4 separate regions of the Homo sapiens genome follow, and all the other regions are linked to region 1. Evidence: promoter capture Hi-C in human tissues and cell types (Jung and others, 2019). All regions are on one chromosome and are shown on one strand. Each heading gives the region's core, a stretch centred on a gene start or on the middle of the fragment in contact. The rest is flanking DNA. Distances are from core to core; before and after follow the strand shown.

Region 1 (2,700 bases), core at 12-2,511:
TCCTTGCATTTTTAGAAGTGTTGTCTTTAAAAGGATATTCTATTAATATTTATAATTAGACATCACACAAAACAGATGCTAAATCTTATGCTATAACTTCTGGATAAAATTACATAAAGATTATGTACTTTTTGGCATAATATTCCCTCAGGAAGCTGTAGAACAAAGGACATTCTCCATGAAGATGCCATTTCTTTTTTTAATAGAAGGAAATAATAAGGCAGTGATTAACCACGATTATTTTAACTACTGTAACGTTTGCAATTAAGTGGGCAGCGCAGGAGCTCAATAAATACTTAATTGATTTACTTTTTTCTCTCCTTGACCCACATCGCAATTCACCCACTCACGCCGCTATCCCTATTCTAACTTTGAAACCAAGTGGATTCTCTCTGTTTTCAGTTTGTGGAAGCGTGGTGCTCAGCCTGTGTGGAGGGGCCTGGCTTCCAAGTGTACTTGGGGTGGAACCTGGGGACTTTACCGAGGGCACAGGTCAGGAGATGAGATTCGTTTCGCTTTTTGAATTACCTTTTGGCCTGTACCAAGATGAACTGGTGGGATATATAGTGTCATCGAACCCGGGAGAGTTGTTGTGGAGGTGAGGAAACAGCTCTGAGGGATAACGGTTTGAAAGTAGTGGCGCTGGGGACGAACATGGGTCCCTGCGAGTCTGAGACTCTCTATTGCCCCCATCTCCTTGCTGCCGATTACTTCTTCAAAAATTCTCCTAGGGACCCTGAGGAGGGACGGGAGAGGTCAGCAAACCCTCTGTCCACCAACTTGATTTCCTGTGATACAAAGTGTCATGAGTTCTCCTGCTTTCCTCCCTTAAAAAAGACAAGATTAGGAACAACGGCTGGCAAGAGAGGAGGGGAAAGCTTAATTCTCCACAGATGCTGCGCAAGGGAACCAATGGGTCACGCCCACTCACGGGTGGCCGCCTCTCTGTTCCATCCCGGGGATGTTGGGCTTTCCCCTCGGTCCGGGGCGAGCGCACTTCCCACCCGGAGACTGAGCGGGCAGCACTCGCAGGCCAGGAGCGCGTTCCGGGAGGCGCCGGCGCCTCCCCGCGGCCTGGGCGCACGTGCCTGGGCTGGGGCCGGAGCCCGCGGTCGCGCCGCGCCGTAGTAGCTGGGGCGGGTGGGAGCGGCTGGCTCCGGGCCGCGGCCGCCGCCCGCCCGCCGGCTCCGGTGGTTGGGCGGAGGAAGCGCGGGACTCCTCCTCCCCACCGTATTAACATGCACCCAGGGGCGGGTCACCAGCCCAGCCTTGCAGCCCCAGCCCGCCGCGTCCCGGCGCTCAGCCTCCGCTCCAGAGGCGAGCGCTGCGCTTCGGGCGCCGCAATCTCCAGGACACGGCCTCGCGGACACCTTCCGCCTCGGGGAATCGGCAGCATAGGCGGCGCGAACGGCCGCCGCCGCCTCGGCTCCTCTCTCGAGTCCTTCCCGTCACCTCGCTGAGAGCCGGTCCTGGTCGCGGGGACATCTCTCTCCTTCCTCCGAGGCTCGTGGGACCAACGGACGGACGCAGCCAGCGAGGGCCGGACTGCGGGACGCGGCCAGGTAACGCCGGGCTGCGCCGCGGGGCTGGGGCGTGCGCGGCGGCGGCGGTCGCGGCGCGCTGGGTGGCTCCTGGCTGCTGCCTGCCGCGCGGTCGCCGCTTCCCTCGCCCGCGGAGGGGCTGCGGGCTGGGCTCCCCCGGCCGCTGGCTCGAGAGTCCGCGCTCCTTACCCTTTCAGCCGCCCGGGGTGCACTCCCGGGCCCTCCGGGTAACCTGGGATCTCGGGGGCGAGCGCGTCCTCTCCGGCCATGCGGTCCTCGCGGCTCCCCACGGGGACCCAGGCAGGGGAAGGATTTCTAATTGCGACAGGGTCCCGGAAGGGGGAGGGGAGGAGAACACCGGTCCCCTGTCCCGGTCATGTCCACCGGTCAAATTCGCACCCCCACCCCACCCCCGATGCACCTTGCAGGGGAGGAGGGGGCTGCTCCCCGCAGGGCTTTCTCGGCAGGCTCCTGGGTCGTTTGCAAAGCAAGTTGTTGCACTAGCTTTTTGGGTGACATTTTGGCATTGTGGAAAAGGACCAACTCCCCCGTGCGTTTGTAAGAGAAAGCCAAAGAAACAGAGACACAAAGACAGGCACAGAGAGAGAGAGAGAGAGAGAAATGGGGTCCAAGGAGGAGGTCACTGGAGAGTCGCCCCCTGCCCGCGGCCAAGGCCAATTCCCGGAGAATCGCGGGGCGGGCCGGGAGACCCGACATTCAGCGAATTGAATGAGCCGGGCTGGAACCAAGGCCAAACAGGGACCTCTCCTCTGGGCTGGGCGAGATAACACATTGCACTTTCATTGAGGGGCGGCTGCAGCTGGGAGAGGCACCTTCGGAGGGCCCGCGGCGATGAAGACCCTGCTTTCAGGACTTCGGCTGCTGCGCTTTTTGCGGAAGGCGCGCTGTCCCGGCCTCGCTGGGTGGCACCGGGAGGCCGTGGGAAGGGGTGGCCCGTGGCTCGGCTGCCGGCGCCGGAGACACTGAGTGCCTGTGTCCGAGTGCCGCGCTCGCCCCCGGCTGCAGGGCTTGCCTCCAGCCCGACCGTAGCGCTGCGGAATTTTCTGCTAGAGAAGGGGAGGATGTGCGGAGGGCAAGGGGTTAAAGGTAGCCAGGCGGCAAGCAGTGGGACGCTGGGTGGGAGATGTCACGTCTTTTG
Region 2 (2,700 bases), core at 57-2,556, 250 kb after region 1:
TGGCTATTGAGCACTTGAAATGTGGCTAGTGCCTCTGAGGAACTGAATTGGTGTATTTATTTTTCATTGACATTTAAGGCTGGGCATGGTGGCTCATGCCTATAATCCCAGCAGTTTGGGAGGCTAAGGCCAGAGGATCACTGAAGCCCAGGAATTTGACTTTACTGTGAACTGTGATCACACCACTGCATGCTGGCCTGCGTGACAGAATGAGACCCTGTCTCAAAAAGAGAAAGGAAAGAAAGAAATGTAAATGGCCACAGGTAGATAGTGGCTATCATATCAGATAGTGCAGGTCCAAAGGATACAATCTACAATCATTGGCATAACCTGCAAGATCCTTCACAGACCAACCATAGCTTCTCATCGCCCCCTCCTATCCCATCCACTTAGTGCCATATGCCGTAGACACACACCACCATGGCACCCCTTCAGATCTCCTAAAGGACCACTTGTTCTCACCTACTGTGTATGTGTGCTGGTTTGTATGTGGTTTTTTCTGATACTACTCTTTCTCCTCTTAACCTCCCGAGAACATCTACAAATCCTGAAAGGCCATGTTCACATGTGACTTCTGAAAAGCTTCCTATTACCTCCTCAGGCATCTGTCAACATGCTTTTCAGGGTTCCCACAGCAACTTGTATATTCTGCACTGAAGCACTGAAAGTACTCCCTGGTAATTATTTGTTTTCTTGTCTGTTATCTTTAATCTTAATTTTCCCCTTAAGCAATCAGTTAGAAAGCAGATTTCAAAATTATTATGTATGATGGATAGTTAATATGTTGGGGGGAAGAAGAGTCAAGCCAAAGTTCAAATGGATTATGAAAGAAAACAAACCACAAAAAAAAAAAAAAATTGGGAAAAGGCTCACCTCAGTTACCACCACTGAATACTTCCGTGCATATAAGTCTTTTGAGGGAACTTAAGGAAAGGAATTGACTTTGACCTTCATGGAACATCCAACATGTCCCTTTACAATTCTAAACTGAATTTTTTTTACCTCTTACTTCATCTACATTTCAAATGTATTCCTGTTTGATGTCAAACCTCTTAAAACTAATTAAGTAATAGATTTTTCAATTGAGCACACCATATATCTTTCAAGGTTAAGCAAGAATAAAACACTTTGCCTGGATTTTCCACTGTGAAATTGATGGTGAGGAGGGAGGGTGTTTTTAATGTGATGCACTGCGGTCAGAAAAAAAAACAAAAACAAAAAAAAAACCACAACAGTCCTGTCAGTTAAAACTGCTAGATACAGCCATCCTTATGAATGTTTTATAATCATTGTAAAAGATCAAAGTGAATTAATGATATTTTTGAAATTTCCTGAGAAAATGACTTCCTGCCCATTGAGTTGTCTTGGCAAGATTCCCACCTTTTGAGCTTACTGGAGAATGAAAAGAATAACAACCTTCTTGTCCTGATTTTATGGAAAGCGAAGCAATCTGCTGTGTTTTTGAGGCTGCTGTTAGTACCATTTTTTAAAAAGAAGATTATCTTAAAAGAGTTTGCTCCTTAGTACCTATTCAAACTCTTCTAGTTTTATTGACACTATTATGTACAGACAGTTGAAAGAATTATGGCGATTAAGCCGAGTTAAATATTATAGAAGATGAATGCATAATGACTGGGTTTCTGTTACTTCCTATTTTCACAATGAAGAGTTTTGTAGTCAACCAGATTTAAAATTATGGACCATGTGTTATTTGACAGTCAAATCTAGAAGCATGGTAAATCCTAAGCTTCTTGTGTTTGCGGAGATGCTACCAGGAAAGCATTTTGAAAAACAGCTGAAGCATTAATTCAGTGCCTCCTCTTCTGAGTTCTTTCTGACCTCCTCGGGCTGAGTAGGAAGCTGCTCTTCTGTGCCTCAAAGCACCCTGTGTTCATATACATTTATTACTGAACTTACTGAGTTGTGCTGTAATTAGATGTGTATATTTCTGCATTTCCACTGACCTATGAACTTCCAAAGCCAAGTACCATGTTGTATTAGTCATCATTGTGTTCCCCTGAGCCTAGCATGTTACCATGAACCAGAGAGGCCCTCAGGAAATGTTTCAGGGAGGGAGAAAAGGAAGAAAGAGTGGTTGTTTTCTGGGCCTGACTGAGTCAGAGCATGTTCTCAGGAAGTTTTATGAGATCTAAAAGCTTAAATGCCCCTACGTTTTAAGATACCTTAAAGCTAAAACATGTGTCAAAGTAGAAGCCCAAATAAAAGCTCATGGCAAACAAAATTGTGTTTTTAAAAGATTAATTGATATCTGCTTCTATATTAAAGATTTGAAAAATGGAACTCGATTCTACCCGTTCTTAAAATATTTCCTCATGACAAATGTGGGCCCTTAGAAAATATTTAATGAATATTTCAAGGATGCATTCTTGCAACTAGAGAGTATTTTATACTATATTTATGCTTTAAAATAACACACTTTTATAAGAGTATCTTTTTTTTTTTTTTTTTAATCTCTCTGTTGCCCAGGCTGGAGTGCAGTGGCGCGATCTCATCTCACTGCAACCTCCGCCTCCCGGGTTCAAGCAAGTCTCCTGCCTCAGCCTCTCAAGTAGCTGGGACTACAGGCACCCGCCACCACGCCCAGCTAATTTTTTGTATTTTTAGTAGAGACAGGTTTCATCATGATGGCCAGGCTGGTCTCGAACTCCTGACCTTAGATATCTGCCCACCTCTGCCTCC
Region 3 (2,700 bases), core at 72-2,571, 150 kb after region 1:
CTTCTGAATGAGGAGTCTCATTTCCCACAGGAACGATTCTAACCCAACCAAATCCTGGTATAAGTCCTTCACAGAAGTATCTCCTAGGTGAGGTCAGAGCCTAGGTCTTCTAACAAAATGTGTTAATTGAAGCTTTCCCATTTCTCCTGCAATTGAATTAGATACAAAAATATGGCTAGATCACACAATATTTAGTCCTCAAGTCTAGCCTGGAGTGGGAAAAATTATTTCATAATATCACCAGTGTCCAAGAAGCCACTCACACTGAAGCAGAGCGGATACTCAGGCCCTTCTCTAGAGGTGGAGAAGAGATGGTGTAAGAGAAAGAAGCTAAACATTATCTCATCTGAATTTCATTTTCAAAAAGCCTGTGGAGCCTTTTTTACTCTTTGACTATTAATGCCCCCATTTGATACATAAGAAAACTGAGGTTTAGAAATGCTAAATAAGTTGTCCTAGGTCACTAGGGGAGGAAACTTCTGGAGTGAGAATTTGACCTCATTCCTAGAAATCCGAAGCTGTCACTTTTTCTCTAAGACATCATGTTGCTTCCTTGGCTTTTGTAATTACAGCATCTTTCCTTCTCCACTGACAGTGGGCATTGGACTAAGGAAGAAAAAAAATGGGCTAAACGATTTTTTATTTCTCTTTGTATTTCAGTTCTGTGATTAAAGTTTCGGGGAAGATAGAGGCTCTTCTTAGTGCTTAGTTCATCCTGACTCAGCCTTCCAGAGCTGACCTCCTCATCCATGCCCCCTCCTTCTACTGTTCTAAATCCCATCAAATCTGCAAACTCTGCAAATTCTCTTGCACTCTCTTGCTTTTGAAACCTCCCTCAGCATTTTAAAACTTTTCTCACCTGACCCACAAAATTCAGCACTGGCTTATCTTCCGCCATATATTTAGTGCTATTGCTATGTGCGCTCTTTCCATTTCCCCAAGCGGTTTGAAGGCCTGAAGTACATGTATGATACTGTAAATTTATCCTTGAACCCCAAAGCACAATGCTGAACAAAGTGTGTATTCTCAATGGATGCTATCACCAGAAACTGTACAGGTAACCAAGCCCTTAGTTGAAAGCAAAGCCATGTGTGTTGTCATGTCTTACCTACCTACCTACATCTTACCCGATAACTGTAGAGGCCTACAGTGTATGGAATATTTCTATAGGCGTTATTTTATTTTATACTGCATCAAATATATTTATATGACTTAGTTGTTATAATGACCACAAGGTGTTTACTTTTCAATCCGCTTGTTAAGGAATGAAGCAATTACATTTGTTGTTCTGGCCTCTGTATCTTTAAAGGGCTTGGATTTCACACGTCTTACCATTTAGTAACTTATTTTAGCTTGGCTGGAGCTTTTAAAAGATGAAGTTCATTTTATTTGGCAAAGGGTAGAATAGCAGCTTCTTCGCCTGAGGCTTTGTGTTGTTAATTAGATTTGCCGCCAGCTCTTCACATAGAAATTGAAGTTGTTCCGGTTTTTCTTCCCCTTTCCTACTTGAGTCTCAATCATAGACCTACTACTATTTGTACCAATTTAAACCTTTTAATTTAATTCTTTGTCAGGTAAGTTTGGGGGTAGTCCTTGTGTTTTTATTGTTAATCTGATGGAAAGGTTTTATGATTTTCCTATATCTGAATGAAATTGGATGTTTAAAGTTATACGTATGGTACAAAAATAATTCTTTCCATAATTGGAGTTTTCTAGTTAAATTTATCTTCCATGAAGTTGAAAATGTCACTGGAGCTATTACAGCTTGTAATACACAGATTATTTTAAAGAGCAGCCATTAGATACAGTAGTTTTGATCACTGTTTCATGATTCTAGCATATTTATCATATTTATTAGATATTTTTATGTAGCTCAAAATAAGTTTATGTTTATTAAGTCCTGGTAGAAATCAGTACAGTTATAGAGTACCTCTGCATGGTTGCAGATATTTGGTAGAGCAAAGGCAGAGGGCAGTGAGTAGAAACTTGCGCTGTAGGGCAGGAGAGAGTCTTTGGGTCACCCAGTCACCAATTATCAGACAAGCAGTCTTCCTCAAGTGACTTAGTCCCTATAAGCCTCAGTTTCCTCTTGTGCATAAGTGAACAACAGTAGTGCCTTGCTCATCAGTTTGTGGTAACATTCAGATGGGATGACAGGTGTGAAGTGTAGTACAGGGACAGGTATAAAGCAAACCCTCGGCCGGGCACGGTGGCTCATGCCCGTAATCCCAGCACTTTGGGAGGTGAGGCAGGGGAATCACCTGAGGTCAGGAGTTTGAGACCAGCCTGGCCAATGTAGCGAAACCCCATCTCTACTAAAAATACAAAAATTGGCCAGGCGTGGTGGCGCATGCCTGTAATTCCAGCAACTCGAGAGGCTGAGGCAGGAAAATAGCTTGAACCCAGGAGATGGAGGTTGCAGTGAGCTGAGATCATGCCACTGCACTCCAGCCTGGGTGACAGAAAAAGACTCTGCCTCAAAAAAAAAAAAAAAAAAAAAAAAGTAAACCCTCAAGTTTGCTACCTGAGGGACAGAGTGCTGGCGGGGCAGAGTGCAGAGACTGCAGGCCCTGCCGCCTGGCTCTGCCGTGTTCTATTTCTGTGGCTGGTGCACTGTTTCTCTAAGCCTTAGTTTCTTCCTCTGTTGAAAGAGATCATATTACACTGGAGTATTGTTGCATATACATGAAATAATTTATG
Region 4 (2,700 bases), core at 167-2,666, 170 kb before region 1:
AGCGCGACTTTACATGAAACAATGTATAATGAAACCAATTTTCCATAGGCTAATTGATATAAACAAAAGTTTAGTTCCTGTGGTGTATGTCTGGTCACAAAAACATCAACAAATTTCTAAATAAAGGCCAAAACACTTCTAATTTTAAACATTGAAATAAATGTGAGCTATACACACATTTAAGAAAGATTAAGAAAAACAAGAAAGATCATTAATACCCAAATGTTTCAGTTCAGAGTCATAGGTGGCCGAGCCTGTCCTGGCAGATCAGGGTGTAAGGCGGGGCCAGGCCTGGACAGGATACCACCCTTGCAGGGCCACTCAGTCACACACACCCCATACTCACTCACACAGCTTTGGGATGTGGGAGGTAACCAGAAGAAAGCCCACAGAGATGCGAGGAGAATGTGCAAACTCCACACAGACAGTGGTCCTGGTCAGGAACCAGTTTGTTTTTTCTCATCAATATTGTTATGAAACAACCTTATCCTAGGACCTGCTGTAAACTGATAAGGTCTATTCATCAAGATCACTGGTTTTATGTTTAGCCATGTGTGTACCCATACACTCACATATATGTATAGACATATATTTACATATATGTATGATCTTGATACATTCTCTCAAAATAGCCCTATAGTCACTTTTGTGTCTTTACCTAATAGCCTCTTGATTCCAATGCAGCATGCCCTAAATTACATTCAGAATTTGGCCTCCCAAACTCACGTCGCCTCCAGGGTTCCTCATGTTTGTTAATGGCAACGCCATTCCACTATTCATGGTTATGATCTGCAATTCACTTCTAATTTTGGCTCTTCACTTACTCCTCATAGAAAATTATTCCAAGTATTGTTAGTGTTTCGTCCCTAATAGACACCACAAGCAACCCTTTTCTCAACTCTTTATAGTCCCAGTTCATACTGCCTGTCTTTTATATTATCACAGATTCAGGTATATATGCACATATATTCAGGTATATATACCTGAATCACACAGTATACATTTTTGCTTTTCAGGAAATTTATATTTAGTCTCTATTGGGGATTGAGAGTGTGAACACTTGGTAGAACATGGTCAATAATTTTTAAATTGGGGTTGAAAAGCCTCGTTTTCTTTCAAAATTTCCCAAAGCAGTGAAACACATTACTTTTAAGAAGGATAGAAGGTTAGGCAGATGTGAGGAGGGAGAGTGGGTGTTTGAGGCCATTGTTATTTCTGTGAGCTACTGACTGAAGAAAGAATATATTTAAAAGAGCAAGTAGGAACATCACAGCCTAGCCTAGAACAGAAGCTCCCACCTCTTCATCCTTCACCCTCTTCTTTAGAACATCTGCCAACTTCCGATACAACTAGCATCTGTGTCTGTGGCTCACCTATGGAGGAGGAGATGATCTTCAAAACTATGCTGAGAACGTTTTTCCCGCCTCTCCCAACTCCAACTAGGTCACTTTCTGCCTTTCCATTGTTTTTGCAAACCAAAAACGCCTCAGGAATAACAGGGTGAAATGTACGTGTGAGCAGTCCAGAGCCCTGCAGTGCAGTGTGACATGAATTCACAGTCCCACCTTAGCCTCGTAACCTTCACCTTTATGAGCACCTCAGGTTAGAGTGTGGGGTAGGGAACTGGGACATGAAGTCTGGTTTTAGTTACAAAGAGAGATTGTCTTCCTTTATAATTAATTTCAAAATAGAATGAACATATCAGATATAATTTGCTGTACTCACATCTTTTGGTTATTCTGAAGGGGACTTTCCCTTGCCCATGGTCCTCACCACTCAAGACTTAGTAATAAGACAAGCTTCCATTTTTAAGGCGATATCTACACCAGACACTATATGTAAAGTATCTTTTTAAATACATAAAACAATCTTGTGAAGTACATATTACCCTCTTCTTTTAATTGATTTTTTTAAAGACTGAAATATTTAATAGTAGGGCTGTTTTTAATTCAAGGAAGAGTATCTGTTTAGAGACATCAAGTGCTTTCCTTGAGATTGACTAAAAAGAAAGATGCCTGCTATATCTGGTTCTGTTCAGCATTGCACTGGAAGTCTTGGCCAGGGCAATAAGACAGAATAATAAAGTTTTAAGAATTGAAAGGACAAAATAAAAATGTTATTATTGTGTTTGAATATTTAGAGAATGCAGAAGAATCTAGAGATACATTATTAAGTATTTAGGAATATTACGTCCTAAAGTATGCACGTTTTGACCAAAAAAAGAAACTATAAAACTGTAGTGAAAGAAATATCCAAAGAAATGGGGAGAGGGGATAAACCATGTTTATGGATTGGTAGATTCAATATTGTAAATGTTGTCAAATTGACTCGTAGTTCCAGTGTGCAATTTTAGTCAAAATCTGAACTTTTTATTTAATATAAACTATTTTTTGGTGGAGCTTGAAAGGTTGATTCTAAAATGTATATGAAGTACAATGATAGAAAATAGTGAAGAAACTCTGGAAGAGTTGAGAAGAGAGGACCTGCTATACTGCCAGCATTTAACATAAAGCTACAGAAATTAAAGTGCGGTCCTGGCACAAAGACAGAAGAACCAAGTAAAGCAGAATAGAAACAGATCCCAGTGACCATGGACACTTGATTTATGATAAAGGTGGCACTGCAGAAGTGGGAGAGAAAGATAGTCTTTTTGAGAAATGATGCCTGAACTGTTCGCTATCCATACTGGAAAAAAGAAAA

Evidence for each region. Contacts are between HindIII fragments. The study calls those that stand out against the background at their distance.
Region 2: a contact is called between a fragment that was not itself captured here and the fragment with the promoter of DLGAP1 in region 1, in 3 of the 25 tissues and cell types used here (H1 embryonic stem cells, dorsolateral prefrontal cortex and hippocampus).
Region 3: a contact is called between a fragment that was not itself captured here and the fragment with the promoter of DLGAP1 in region 1, in 2 of the 25 tissues and cell types used here (dorsolateral prefrontal cortex and lymphoblastoid cells).
Region 4: a fragment that was not itself captured here is called in contact with the fragment with the promoter of DLGAP1 in region 1 in 1 of the 25 tissues and cell types used here (lymphoblastoid cells).

The regions. Positions count from the first base shown.
Region 1 is chr18:4,453,868-4,456,567 of GRCh38, reverse strand. It overlaps DLGAP1 (DLG associated protein 1), which reads left to right and starts at 1,261. Exons shown (of 13, transcript NM_004746.4): 1 at 1,261-1,562. RefSeq lists a silencer at 1,112-1,241. The HindIII fragment of the contact is 8,504 bases long and covers 1-2,700 here.
Region 2 is chr18:4,203,035-4,205,734 of GRCh38, reverse strand. All of the region lies in intron 1 of DLGAP1 (DLG associated protein 1), which reads left to right. Among named protein-coding and RNA genes, the nearest start is that of DLGAP1-AS5, 60 kb to the left of the region's middle. The HindIII fragment of the contact is 4,142 bases long and covers 1-2,700 here.
Region 3 is chr18:4,307,513-4,310,212 of GRCh38, reverse strand. The region is part of intron 1 of DLGAP1 (DLG associated protein 1); the gene reads left to right. Among named protein-coding and RNA genes, the nearest start is that of DLGAP1-AS5, 44 kb to the right of the region's middle. The HindIII fragment of the contact is 5,265 bases long and covers 1-2,700 here.
Region 4 is chr18:4,626,323-4,629,022 of GRCh38, reverse strand. No RefSeq gene overlaps it. Among named protein-coding and RNA genes, the nearest start is that of DLGAP1, 170 kb to the right of the region's middle. The HindIII fragment of the contact is 3,541 bases long and covers 1-2,700 here.